Linked DNA regions of Homo sapiens: region 2 is linked to region 1. The links are contacts of gene promoters, found by promoter capture Hi-C in blood cells and fetal thymus (Javierre and others, 2016). All regions are on one chromosome and are shown on one strand. Each heading gives the region's core, a stretch centred on a gene start or on the middle of the fragment in contact. The rest is flanking DNA. Distances are from core to core; before and after follow the strand shown. Region 1 holds the start of LINC01592 (long intergenic non-protein coding RNA 1592). Region 2 overlaps SULF1 (sulfatase 1).

Region 1 (7,152 bases), core at 1,526-4,025:
CACAAGTGTTGACTGGTGTATGGATAGTATTTAAAGCTAACAATTTTCTATGAAAAAAAGGTTGTTTTAAGAGAAATAAGAAATCCTATGTAGCTCTTGTATGACCTTTAAGAATCCACTTGAACATACAATCTAAGTTATCAAGACCCAGGCATTGGAATGGTTGATCCCTTGTAATACCTCATTCACTTTTTCCTGTTTGCAATATTAAAAAAGTAAGCATGAGTAAGAAATAAACTAAGTCTATTATCTCTAATATCTATGTTAATAGGATCTTAAGGAGATAATGCCATAACTTATATAAAGTTCTCTAATATTGGAAACACAAGTTCACTTCTAATTGGCATCTTGTGTAAAAAAGACATTGACCTTCAGGTGAGTAGCTTTCCTTGCAACTCTGGCATCTTCTGTGGACTTACTTCTGTGGATTTATTTCTGTGGACAAGAGCTGTTCATTCATTACTTCATTCAGCAAATATTCCCCACACAATTAGTAATTCCATAGAGTACATTATTCAAACCCCAAGGGCAACCCACTCCATAGCCTGTAATTTTCTTCTAAGACCTCAAGGCCATTGATTTGGTCATGATATTGATCTATTAACAATGAGTTTTTCATTTGCAAGTGTGAAAAATGACCATATGGCACTGCTGGGCCATGTTTGACCAATGTGTATAACTGGGATGGTAATAATTTAGTTCACTTTAATGTTATAAAAAGAAAACAGAATATGTTAAAAGACTTGTAAAGTCATGAAGCGAGTAGCTCACAATACCTGACCTGAAGATAGGCTTTCCATATCCAAGATTACTCTTCCTGAAAACAGGCTGAGTCACATTAAACAGAGAAAAGAGTAAACCTTTGGGTCCAGTACCACGTCACATTGTTTCTTTCTAGTTCATAAAATCCAAAGGACTCAGCTAAACCAGGAGAACAATTAAACTCATCATTTCTTCATTAACTCATATTCCAAGGTGAAATGGCTAGTCTAAATACAGCACTGTTTAAAGGAAATATTTTTGTGAATTCCAAAGAAGCTCTTGAAGACTACTGTCTTTGGGTCATTTGCTATTTCTGTTTATTTGAATTTAAACATCTACAGACACTCTTGGCAAAATAGGCTATTTTCTTTTGAATTCTTAACTATGTCACTGATTAATTATCAAGATAGAATTACTTCTGAGGTTAAAACAGACCCTTGAGATTTGGTGGTTCACTGCATTCACTTCCTCTAAAATTCTAGTAGTTCATGCTTGTGAAATTTCCTTAACTTGACCTAAGTTACTTGATATGGAAAATAAACTACACTAATCGAATTATTTAAGCATCTCACTATTTCCCTATTTGGGCAACCTGGAAATCATGTCAGTTAGCTTATTTAGGACTCTAGTATTGTGAGTGGCAGAAGACCTAAGGAATTTAAACAGAACAAAACAAAGTGGAAAAGCCATATCAAATTAAAAATAAAACAAATAAAAATACTGGTCATTCTAAAACATCCCTCCACCAAACACATTTGAAATTCAGGCTTATATTTTATTTTTTCCACATGGATGAGAAATATGAAATTGGAATTTGTTACTTTTTCTTAGTGTGCTTATTCTAATGCAAGCCTCGTCGTACTAATGAGTAGCAGAATTTCAGGACTCGTGTCTTCTAGTTCACTTGTAGTGGCAGTCGTTTCTTACTACAAATCCTTTTTGAGGGAGGATAATATTAACAAGTCATTTAATAAAGCACTTGTAATCCCCATGCATAATACAAGTTTGACAATTGTGAGACACTAGAGCAGCCGTCGACCTACTGATATTAAATAACTCCTTTAAATATGAAAAAGATATTATGTATTTTTTTCTTACATCACAAATGAAATCTAATCTAACTCCAAATATTTTAATGTGCCTTATAAAGATCTTTTCCTCAACAAATCTTATCTGCACTCTTCCTGAAATAAATTGAAATCATTTTCAAATATTTACTGTGTATCAAATAAATCCCTTGCCATTCCATCTATACCTAAAAGGGTGCGGTTTGATCATTTTATTTTTTTCTGAACATTCTATAAAACATATTATGTATCTGAACCACCATAAAATACTGTTCTTGCAACATTGCCAATTTCAAAATGCTCTGTTGAATAGTTTATCATCGGTGTTCTCCATTTCCTTTCTTGATCCTCTTTGAGAATCAGCCAAGCAAATGCTAGCTAAATTTATTTGCACTTATTAATGTGTCTTAGTCTGAACATTTCTTACTGAAAGGAAATCATGGGGCCAGAAAGAATAAAACCCAATTTTTGGCTGAGGCTCTAATAGCATGGGGGTGATATTAGATGAAAAATAGAGACGGAGGGAATGTAAACGTTAGTTTATTCAGTTCAACTGATTTTCTTCCTATTAAGGTGCATTCTGTTAGATAGTTTTCCTCCTACTTACTAAATAGTTAAGCCCTGACATCATAAAGAAAACTGCAATTCACATCACTAAGGCTAATGTCACCCAAAGATAACTTGCTATTTTAAATAACATGGAAACTGCATTGGGATGACAGATAAGTATAACAATCCATTTTATTTTTAACTGCTTTTGATGTGTTCCAGACTTTGAATATTCAGACAGAAGAATAATGGAAAAGTTATTTTTTCCCCTTAATCACACCTCCACACCCCAAACTACTATTCCTCCACACCCCAAACTACTATTCCTCCACCCTCACCTCTGAACTTTTTGAACAAAATTGATGGATCAAACTCTCCTTTTCTTGCCAGGAGAATAGTCCTGGACTGAGCTTCAGAAGATCTCAGATCACTGACGTTCTGTCTAGAAGAATACTCCAAGATATATTTCTAAGTAATATTCCTTCTCTTGTTGGGGGAAATTAGAGAAGATTTCTACCTGGTGCCATATCAACTCAAGGATGGAGTCAAATACTGAGAGGCTCTGTCATCTGTCTTTGGATCTCCTTCTGTGAGTATTTATGCTGAGGCTCCACAGTAGGACCACATTTCTGTAACAGACCAGCAGTGGGAAACCAGGACTAGACCCACAACTCATACTTTCCAGCTTGTTGTAACATCCTTTGAAATGTTCAGCATTGATCCCAAAAAAATCTTAGCCAGGATTTCCAAATAACATCATTGTTCAATACAAAATGTATGTATATTATTCTTCCAATGAATCTTTCTACAGGGCAAAAAGAAGCAATGGTCCACAATAGCCATTACTGCCTGTTCAAAGAACTTACATTAGCTATTTTAGGGTAGGCGTATTAGAAATACATTACCTTGGTTTTTCTTCTTAGAATATTTTGATTTTTCCTCATTCCTGAAGGATATTTTCTCCTGATGTAGAAGTCTTAGCTGACAATGTTTCTCTTTTTGTACTTGAAAGATATTGTACCCCTTCCTTTTGGCCTCCATGGTTTTAGATGAGAAATCTGTTGTCTTTTGTTCTGTAATAGGTAACATGTTGTTTCTCTCTGGGTGCTTTCAAGGTTTTTCTTTGTTTTTACATTTTGAAAATTTAATTGTGACGTATCTTGGCATATTTGTCTAAATTTGTCCTATTTGAAGTTAGCTAAATTTCCTGAAGTGTAAATCCTGAAGTGCCTACCAGCATTAACCAGTTTTCTACCTAAATGAATTATCATTCAAGAATTTACAAAAAAATAACAACCTTGTCATTCCCACTATTATAGATATTATAACCCTACTCAACCTATACTTTTATATATGCCTAATCTATTCTACTTCAGTCACATTATTCCCCATATCCAATAATGTAAAAATAAAGTGACAGTTTGAAAACACAAAGCCCATACTACTTCTCCCCCGGCTTACCATCCTCGCCATCTTCCTCCTACCAATCTCCCTACTTACCCTGCTTATCTTCTAGAAATTTAGGTTAAACAAGACCAAGAGCCTTCAAAGCCCTTAGTAAGTAGACTATACTTAATTTCTGAAAACCCAAGGACTGCAAAACTCTACTCTGCAAATTTGAGAACTTTTCAGTCATCATTTCATGGAATACTTTTTCAATAATGTTCTTTTTTTAAATCTCCTTCTGGGCCTTTGATAATATGCATGCTAGATCTTTTGGTATTGTTCACAGGTTCTTGATATTCTGTTAATTTTTTCTCAGTCTATTTTCTCTGTATAGTTAAGAGTGGAAAAATTCTATAGATCTGTTTTCAAATTCATTGATTCGATCTGTCATCTCCATTCTGTGATTAAACCCAATCATCAGGTTGTATTATTGTTATATTTTTTAGTTCTATAATTTCCATTTGGTTCTTTTTGTATAACTGTTGTTTGTCCACTCAGACTTTTTGTTTCTTAAATTTGTGTCAGGGGAATTTGTCATTGCCACATGAAATATTTTTGTAATTACTGCTTTAAAATCCTTATCACTTATTTCCAACATCTGATTCACTTGGGTGCTGCTGTCTGTTGTCTTTTCTCACTCAAGTTGTAATTTTCCTGTGAGTTTCTTACTGTATGCTGGACATTTTGGGTATTAGATTATGAAACTAAGGATTCTATTTATCCTTTTTTTTTTTTTTTGAAGCAATTGCCCTGTTGATGTGTAGTGTGAATGTGAGAGTCAGATGGATATTTATACTTAGCTTTACCCCTTTTTTGCTGCAGAAGTGGGTTAGAAATTTAGCTCACCACTAGTTTCTGATCACACCAGTGGTAAGTGGAGTGCTAACTGATCCTGCCTCCCACCACTTCGTTCTGCCTTATTGATACCTGATGAAGATGAAGGCTCAGCTTCCCACCATCCCCTGCTGACACCATGGTGGGGGAAAGTGGAGTAGTATGGTACTGTACCTCTTCATTCAGTCTTCTTGCTGCTGGATACACACAGGTGTTCAGCTCCCTCCTGAGTCTGCTGACGCCAGGAACGTTAACTAGTCCTGACTTGCAACACGTTTTCCAGTCTTCATGTTGAGTGGGGGCAGAGGTTCAGGTCCCTACATAGAAAGAGTGGTATCACCCAGTGGAGGAAAGGGTGCATCACTGCTTGTTTTCACAGGGTGGAGGGGTAAAGTGGAAGATTACTTCCTTGCTCATTTCCACTGAAACCATGGGGATTGAAGAAGGATTTTCTGTTAATGGTTGGATGTAGTTGGGCCAAAAATGTTTTCTGTTGATAGGTCACCTTTTCCTTACGCCTTGGCGAGAGGGAATAGAATACTCTAGAAATCTTGTGTGTTGTTTTGAGTGTCTGTTGGCAGTTTGCAGTTGAAGGCTTCTGCAGTGTTCTGTCTAGGATATATAGGAGGCAATTAGGAAAACTGAGGTGACTCACCACTGTGTTGCTCCTCAAGTCCTGAGGTCCCTAGGCAGTCTATTGTCTTTTCACTTTTCAATGTCTTTCTATACTTGTTTGTTGTAGTATATCTGGAGTTTTTATAATTTTTCAAGAGAGAACCTGGGAGGAGTGAAGTCTACTCCATCTTGGCTGGAATCAAAAGTCCCATTGTAGATTTTTTTTTACATATATACATATATAAAAAATTAGTGAAATCAATTCAATGCTAATAAGAGAACTTCATGTATTCTCCACATTTTAATGTAGACCTTATTATGTGTAATTCTGGAACAAAAGGACCAAAAATTTTACTAAGAAACTATTTCCTGTGCTATTTTGTAAATTTATAGGCACACAAATCGTTATTTATACCTGAAAGTCTTCTGCCATCTCCAGCTCAGTGGTTATTCCATAAATATATTACTTGTTTTTGTTGCGAATAAAGTTAGACCATACCATGAAAGAAATATTTCAATTCTTACTATAATTTGCAAATTGTTTTATGATAAAAACACAGTCTTCAGGCACCTCAGGGACCTGGGGCAGGAACAATGGACACTGGTGTACAATATATAAGAAGAAGTGAGGTGAAGGAAACAGGATAGACTCTTTGAGGTTCAGCTGGAATTGACGGTATTGGTGTGAATTCACAATTTTTATTATATATATATATAGATAAGTGGATATAGAAAAAGATGCACAGGTGAGTAAATTTGTAAGTGTGTATGTGGATATGTGTGTGTGTGTGTGTGTGTGTGTGTGTGTGTGTGTGGAGTGTGTTTCCTGGTTCTATCCTCTATTCTCTGAGACAGACTAGAAAGCAATGACACCACAGTAGCAATGAGCACACTGAGAAGCCAGATGTTGTTTTGTAAATATTATTTCGCCACAAAAGGAAACAGGGACTCCTGGAGAAACAACTGATCTCAGATTCAGAGCAAAAAAAAAAATGTACAAGAACCTTGAACACCTTTTTGTGTGAAAAAAATAGGAATTGCTTAAAGAATGATGTGGAAATACCAAGAAACCAGCTTAGGGGTGCTTTTATTAGCCAAATCTAGAAATAAATTAGCATTGTAAAAAGTATGATAGTAAAGGATTATAACCAATTGGAAAACTGGAATCTGTAAGTACATGCTGATCTGAGTGAAAGAATGAATAAGTGAAGGAAAAAACTCTATCTGAAGGTAGTATGCCAACTAATAAGAAATGATTGATTTTAAAAATGACTGGCTTTGGCTACCTCATGGTAACAACTGATTCAGACAAAAATTATGAAAACATACTCAAACCCTCTTGTGAGTGTTTGATAGGTAGTAGAATAATTAAATAGTTATAAAGTATCTTTTCCTTAAGTACTTATTAAAATATTTGAAATGCAAAAACATCATTAATTATTCTTAAATTGTAGAAATCTGGCAGACACTTGGCTAACCAAGCATAAAACCAACATCACATGCATCTATTGAAATAATATAATGAGAAGAATACAGGATTTTCTGGGGTGCTCCTGCCAAAAAATGCATAACCTGAATCTAGAAAATATCAAACAAACCCCAAATGAGGAATGTTCTACAAAGTAACTCATCTATATGCCTCAAAAAATGTTCAGATCATGAAATTCAGGGAAAAAATAAAACCCTGAGGAACTGTTACAATTTACGAGGTTAAAGGGATGCGACAACTAAATGACTGGATCCTGAACCAGAAGGGAAAGAGCTTATAAATAATACTATTGATGCAATCCACACAATCTGAATGGGGCCTATGAACTGGATGGTATTATTTTATTGGTGTTGATTTCCTCATGTTTATGATTATACTTTAATTATATAA
Region 2 (7,273 bases), core at 1,315-3,814, 460 kb before region 1:
GAAAACTAAAGTAATAAAATGATAAACAATGGCTTGTTCTCACAAAGCATGGGTCAGGCTAAATAGTTAAATACAGAAATTTCTTAGAGGTTGGTTCCTTAAGTAGCAAAAACTTTGCTCACCTCTCAAGGCCTGCAGAGGTGTGTGAAGGGAGAGTTTGTGAAGAGGGCCTTTGTGCATCCACTATACTGTAAATGAACCCCTGCTGATGGTAGCAACCAGGTAGGAACAGTTACAGGCTCACTGCGTTAGACAAACAGTGGCATTTGAGTTTAAATAATCAGCAATACAAGAAGCTGAAAGTTCTTGACAATTCAGATGCTGATAACCTTTGCTGGAACCCAATCAACATTGCTAGTTATTCTTTTCTTTATCTTATTTACTTTACTTCTTCCTTTAGGAAAAAGCAAATTAGCTTTAATGATACCTTTGTATAAACTACATCAAAAATCATTTCCTAATATGGAAAAGAGAGAGTGGTTTTTTCCTATGAAATGAACTTCCTTTCTGGTGAATGAAAGGTGCAGAAAAGATCTACATTTTTTTCTGCCACAGTGTATCTTATTTTTTTAATTAAAATTTTTATTTTTATTGACAAATGATAATTGTATATATTTACAGGGTTCAATTTGATGTTTTGATATATGTGTACATTGTGGAATGATTATATCAAGCTAATTAACATGTCTATCTCCTCACATGCTTATCATTTTTTTTGTAGTGATAACATTTAAGAATCTATTCTGTTAGCATTTTTGAAACATACAATTAATTCATTGTTATTAACTGTGGTCACCTTGCTGGGCAACAGATCTTTAATGTTTATTCCTCCTGTCTCACTAGAACTTTGGAACTTTTGGTCAGCTTCTTCCCACCACCACCAACATTCAATTCAGGGAATTCATACCTACAACGATATACATTAAGTGGTCAAGAAAATTGAATTTTTTGACTAGTCTGGCCAGCACGAGTCCTCTCTCTATCTCACCTTCCTTCACTAAAACACACAAAACATGCCACTCTAGAAACACTGCACACAGACAATTCTTTATTCAAAAATGACCTTTTAAAGCCTGTCATCCTCTTAACTGCCTGGTTTCCAGCTCTAGAAGGAAAAGAAGTAAAGAAGGGAAAAAAGTCCTGACAGACAAAATGCGGAGCTTGACAGAAGAGACAAGGATGCAATGTTTGAATTGGATACTTTGTGGGGGACAACAAGAGTCCTTAGAGACTAACAATTTATCTTGAGAAAGAGTAGAAAATGAAAGAAATGCAGAAAGGTTTTTCTTATACATACAGAGTGAGTTTGAAGAACAGTGTTCTATTCTTCACCAGTCAAGACCAGGATATAAGTTGCTTTTACTCCAAGCCATAAAATGAAAACAGCAGTTGTAGTTATGGTCAATTGGTGTGGAAAGTTTACAAGACTTTGTTTAGGGTGGCTTAGGGCCGTCAAGCCAAACTATAAAAGTGGCATTAAATGTTTCAAGTCACATGTAAAAGAAAAAAAAAAAAGACTGGCAGGATGTCCAGCCAACTGGATAGGAAGTTTAGGTCACATATGTTTGTTCCACAATACCCCAATCTAAACTGAAGCCCTGTTGCTCCCAAAGGTTTAAGGGGACCTCTGTCTTCCCCAATCCCCACTTTGGCTGGGCAGCTTGGTGCTAGGTCTCTAGAGGGGATGGTGGCCAATATATCAAAAGCACCTTGCTTTTGTCCACAGCAGCAATGTCCAAAGTATAGTTTGGGACGTTTGGAGGACCCTGTGACCCTTTTGAGAGGTTCATGAGGTCAGAACTATTTTGATAAGAATACTGACACATTATTTGCTTTCTTCACTGCGCTGACATTTCTACAGATGGCATAAAAGCAATAGTAGGTAGAACCGCTTTCCGCTTTTGTCTTAGCATGAATGATAGAAGCTTCACATATAGTAAAAACAAACAAACAAACAAAAACAACAACAAAAAAAACCCAGCTTCACTTAAGATGAAGCAGTAAAACCACTAATTTTATTAAACCTTGACCTTGAGTACACATCTTTTCTTTTCACTGTTGTGTTTTCTGAGATAAGAGGTTCACACAAAGTCCCTTGGTGGCTGGGGGAGTATGATGGCTGTCTTGAGGAAAAGCATGAAGGTGGCTGAGCTGCAAGCTAAAGTGGCTTTAAACAAACAAACAAACAAAAAATGAAACACTACTTTTACTTAAAAGAATTTTTTAGACTTGGATATTTGGCAGACATTTTCTCAAATAATGAATGAAATGAGCCTATCATTTCAAGGGAAACAATTGACAGTGTTTGTTACCAATGATAGAAATCTACCTTTCAAGTTAAAATTAGAATTCTGGAAAACTTGTATACTACACTTGGCAGACTCCCAATAAGTAAAACTTTTTCTGATGACAATGGTAGTGATGTTAACAAATGTTATTTTTTGATATTGTAAAATGAAATGAGTCAACATTTAGAATATTCGCATAGTTCAGTGAACCAAATTTCCCAAATAATCACAGTGCTACAAAATCTTACATGAATAAAAAATGCATTTGAAGTACAAGATGACCAATGGATTCTATTGTAACAGAATGAAAAGTTCATTGATATGGCTTCAGATTTCTTAATACAACTAACCTTTAATGAATTATCACTTGCCAAGTTTTGTTGTAGTATCAGAAAATATCTATAAGTATCTGAAAAAGCTATTAAAATGCTTCTACTTTCCAACTACTTATTCATGTGATTCTGGATTTTATTACTGTACTTCAGCCAGAACAGTGTATTTCAACAGACTGAATGTAGAAGCAGAAATAAGAATTCGACTTCCTTCTTTTCAGATAAACATTAAAGAGATTTGCAAAAATGTAAAATGAATTCATAATTTATTCACAATTTTTTTGTTTGGAAAGTATAGTTTTTTTTAATAAAATATATCATTTAGGTTAACATATAATAGATTTATTATTTTCAAAAGAATCAAATATTTGAAAATTTTCTCAGTTTTCACTTGTAAGTATTAATAATTATAATCCACATAAAAACTGTTGGGGCAAGGGTCTTCAATAAATTTTAATTATATAAAGGGATACTGAGACAACCAAAGGGTTTGAGAATTGCTGGCTTAGAGTGTACCTTGTTCTATAGTTAAGCCCAGACTCTCACATTTAAGGCTGTAGGTCTGGCCCTAGTCACAAGCTTCTCATTTACTTTTTTTCCTTAAAGCCTTGAAACTGTCCTCAGTTCTAAATGCCTGGTCTCAGATAAAAGTTGTTGATGAGTGATAAAATTCTGTGTTTTTTATTACCCAAGGATAACACAAAATTTTACAAATGAATGCCCATGCATCTGAAGTATGCAAGGGACAGGGTCAGAACAACCCACTCGCCACAGAAATAAACCTCTCTTGGATGGGGCAGAAGAATTATTTCTAGTACAAAGCAATGGCACTTTATAGTTAGGCCAGAGAAAAAAGGGACACCATAAGCAGTTGAAACAGCAGGGGCAGGGGAGATTATGCAGTTATGCGAAGCTGAATTTAGCCAGAACACGCTTAGATTATTGTCAGAGGCAAGCGAAGTAGAATTACACCAGCAAGAAGCTGGTACCCACATCTCATCCTCCCATCCTACATTGCTGTCTACATACATTTCTTAGGATCAGTTAACATGGCCCTTTCCCCTTAATTTTGGCTTTTGAGTCTCCCAGAGATTACTTCTTTTCTTTAGAGTAAGGCTTCAGGATGTGCTATCTTCTTTATAAGATACATGAATCCACGAAAAAGCTAATTTCTTCTTTTAACAACCCCACAGCTGGCAAGTTCACCTACTGTTAATCTCCAGAAAGCCTGTTTCCTGGTCTAATTTACTACAACTCCAAGCAAAGAAGATAGACAATCATCCCCTCCTGGTGTAGTAACACTTTTATTCTCCTCCAATAATAAATCCTCTTCCAACAAACAATGACAGCTGAAAAGTGTATGCCTATGACCTGGAACACCTGTGGGGAAATATTTGGCTAAATGATGAGATCTTCCTTTCTCCTCTCCTCCTGCCACACAACACTGTGAATCTTGAAATTGGAAGGAATCTTCAAAGCTCATCTATTCACACAGTGGTGAGTGCTGGTTATCCCTGGTGTATGGTGAGGGAGAGGGACAGATTTTATTTTTTGGCTTAATTCATATATATATTGAATTTTTTCAATAATCTGTTGCATTACAAAACATAGAAATAAATAAACTTAAGTTTTCTAGGTTTTCTCTCTGTCTTCTCAGGGAGGAAGAAAATAGATGGAGTTGAAGAGTGGGAAGGATGAAGTGAGGGTTGAAGAGTGAGAAGGATGAAGTGAGAAATGTGCCTTTGAGACTCTGCCTCATAAAAGCAGGTACTAAAACCATATAAAAACAAGCTTCCGAAGGGCATTTTAGAGAATGCATAAAGTCCAAATTAAAATTTGTCCAGCTTCTTTCAGATGAAATTAACAAGACAAAGGAAAACAAAGTGATCTAGATATTATGAAAACCACCAGAAGAACTCAGTATTCCTGAAGCATATGTTACAAAGTGTCTAAAGGGACTAATAATGGTCATTGGTGACCAATTGTGGTCCAAATGATCAATGGTTTCAATGGTGGCAGTGAGATCCAAGAGAATGAGAACGAAGAGACAACTGGATTTCCAAAAGAAGAGGCATTGGAAACTTCAGGTAAAGTGGATTTGCATGAAATACTATGCAGCGATAAAAAGGAACAAGATCATGTCCTTTGCAGGGACATGGATGAACTTGGAAGCCATTATCCTCAGCAAACTAACGTAGGAACAGAAAACCAAACAGCACATGTTCTCACTTATAAGTGGGAGGTGAATGATGAGAACACATGGACCCATGTGGGGGAACAGCACACGCTGGGGCCTGTTGGGGGTTCTTTAGGGTTGGGGGAGGGACAGCATCAGGAAGAATAGCTAATGGATGCTGGGCTTAATACCTAGATAATGGGATGACATGTGCAGCAAGCCACCATGACACACGTTTACCTGTGTAACAAACCTACACATCCTGCACATGTACCCCTGGACTTAAAATAAAAGTTGATGAAAAAACATAAAGTGGGTTTGGGGGAAGGGCAGCGATATTGTTAAAAAGAACTAAAATGTGGTCTTGGGCATCTTAGCTAGGTCTTAAAATATAAGGTTTATTACATTAAATTTCATTAAATTTGCCTTTGGTTTTATATATCTATGGCTTATTTGTACTGAAGTACCTTGAGATATTGCATTAGTCAGCAGAAGTAGTTTGTTGCAATAACAAAGAAATTCCAAATATGATAAAAGCATATTTGTCACTCATACTGCAAGTCACACATAGAATGGCAGAGAACTCTGCTCTGCCCAGCCATGCATGGATGCACACTGATGGGGGCAGTGTTGTCCTGTTGCTGCAATAACTAGACCAGGAAGCAAGGGAAGAATAAACTCAAGAATTGTGCAGGAGCTTTTCAGGGCTTCAACCTGGAAGTGACCCAGTTCACTTCTAACATTTCATTGGATGAGACTAGTCTTGTGGCCCCACTCAACGGCAAGGACACTGGAAAATTTAGTGGACCAAAGTGTTTGCTGAGCACTAATGTCTATGCCACAAACATTACATTTCACTAGTACCCCATTTCTTTCTCTTTCTCTACATGCACATACCACACACACACATACACGTGCATATGCCCACACACATACTTAAGATATGTGTATAAATATATATACCCACACACAGACACATATCTCAAGTAACGAAGAAACATAATCTTTCTCACAGTATAAAGTTCAATCATTCTTAGACACTAAAAATATACTTTCGACAGATTCGGGGATTTTTTATACATGTTTCGTTTTAGTCTGTTTTCCTGATGTACATAATCTGGCGCAATGCAAAAATTTTTAAAGTTCCACAATTCTTGAGATACATTTTAAGTTGAAGTAAATATTTTTAAAAAGACAATTAGATGGTATATTTATGTTTTGAAGGCATTTCTGGAAACACTATCTTGTACTACGAGAAATGGTTTCGAAACATAAATATACCATCTGAAAATCATTTCTCGAAATACTATCTCACAGTCGTATGTAGGAAGAGGAACACCTGACTTTACTATATAAATGAAGCTGCAGTCAAGAGAACCCCATTGGCATACTTTTTTTTTTTTGAGATGGAGTCTTGCCTGTTGCCTAGGCTGGAGTGCAGTGGCAAGATCTTGGCTCACTGCAACTTATGCCTCCCAGGTTCAAGTGATTCTCTTTTCTCAACCTCCCAAGTAGCTGGGATTACAGGTATGCACCACCACACCCGGCTAATTTTTATATTTTTAGTAGAGACGGGCTTTCACCATATTGGCAGGCTGGTCTCGAACTCCTGACCTCAAGTGATCTGCCTGTCCCGGCCTCCCAAAGTGCTGGGATTACAGGCGTGAGCCACCACGCCCAGCCCACTGGCCTACTTCCTATGCCATCAAGTTCACTGCCAATATAATGCTCTCTAACTTCTTTGCAGGGCTAAACACAGCAGAGTGGGGAAACAAGTTCCTTCCTCCTTCCCTTGGCCTCCCGCAGAGGCAGATAGAGGACCAGGAAAGAAAGCTCTGGGAAACAGTGTGAAGGAGGCATTCACATTTCAAAAGACAATTCTAGTTCCTAGCTCAAGGCAAATTATGGAGATTAGCTGTATTTTTTTTTCAAAATGTATTACTTACAGGAGAACCTTAAAAAAATCAAATATCCTATTAAAGCCAATGCCTTTGCTTGGAGACATTTTCAAGGAAACTTTAAAATGCAGATCAGTTTATGTATGAAGTTTTTTTTTTTTGTTTTTTTTTTTTTTTTTTTTGAGATGGAATCTCGCCCTGTCGCCCAGGCTGGAGTGCAGTGGCGCAGTCTCGGCTTACCGCAAGCTCCGCCTCCCAGGTTCGCGCCATTCTCCTACCTCAGCCTCCCGAGTAGCTGGGACCACAGGCGCCTGCCACCACGCCTGGCTAATTTTCTGTATTTTCAGTAAAGACGGGGTTTCACCATGTTAGCCAGGATGGTCTCGATCTACTGACCTCATGATCCTCCTGCCTCGGCCTCCCAAAGTGCTAGGATTACAGGTGTGAGCCACGGCGACTCACCAATTTCTTTCTTTCTTTTTTTCTTTTTCTTTTTTTTTAGAAAGGCTAACAACTCAAGAGATACAACAGGAGATTTCTAAAACCATAACTTTCCTAACATTTATAGATTCAAATAAT

The links. The method cuts DNA at HindIII sites, captures the fragments that hold promoters and counts their contacts. A CHiCAGO score of 5 or more calls a contact.
Region 2: a fragment that was not itself captured here is called in contact with the fragment with the promoter of LINC01592 in region 1 in 1 of 17 cell types (endothelial precursors); the score reaches 6.1 in endothelial precursors.

Annotation. Positions count from the first base shown.
Region 1 is chr8:69,099,813-69,106,964 of GRCh38, reverse strand. It overlaps LINC01592 (long intergenic non-protein coding RNA 1592), which reads left to right and starts at 2,775. Exons shown (of 5, transcript NR_039986.1): 1 at 2,775-2,967. The HindIII fragment of the contact is 15,425 bases long and covers 1-7,152 here.
Region 2 is chr8:69,554,582-69,561,854 of GRCh38, reverse strand. All of the region lies in intron 3 of SULF1 (sulfatase 1), which reads right to left. Among named protein-coding and RNA genes, the nearest start is that of SULF1, 65 kb to the right of the region's middle. The HindIII fragment of the contact is 1,274 bases long and covers 1,928-3,201 here.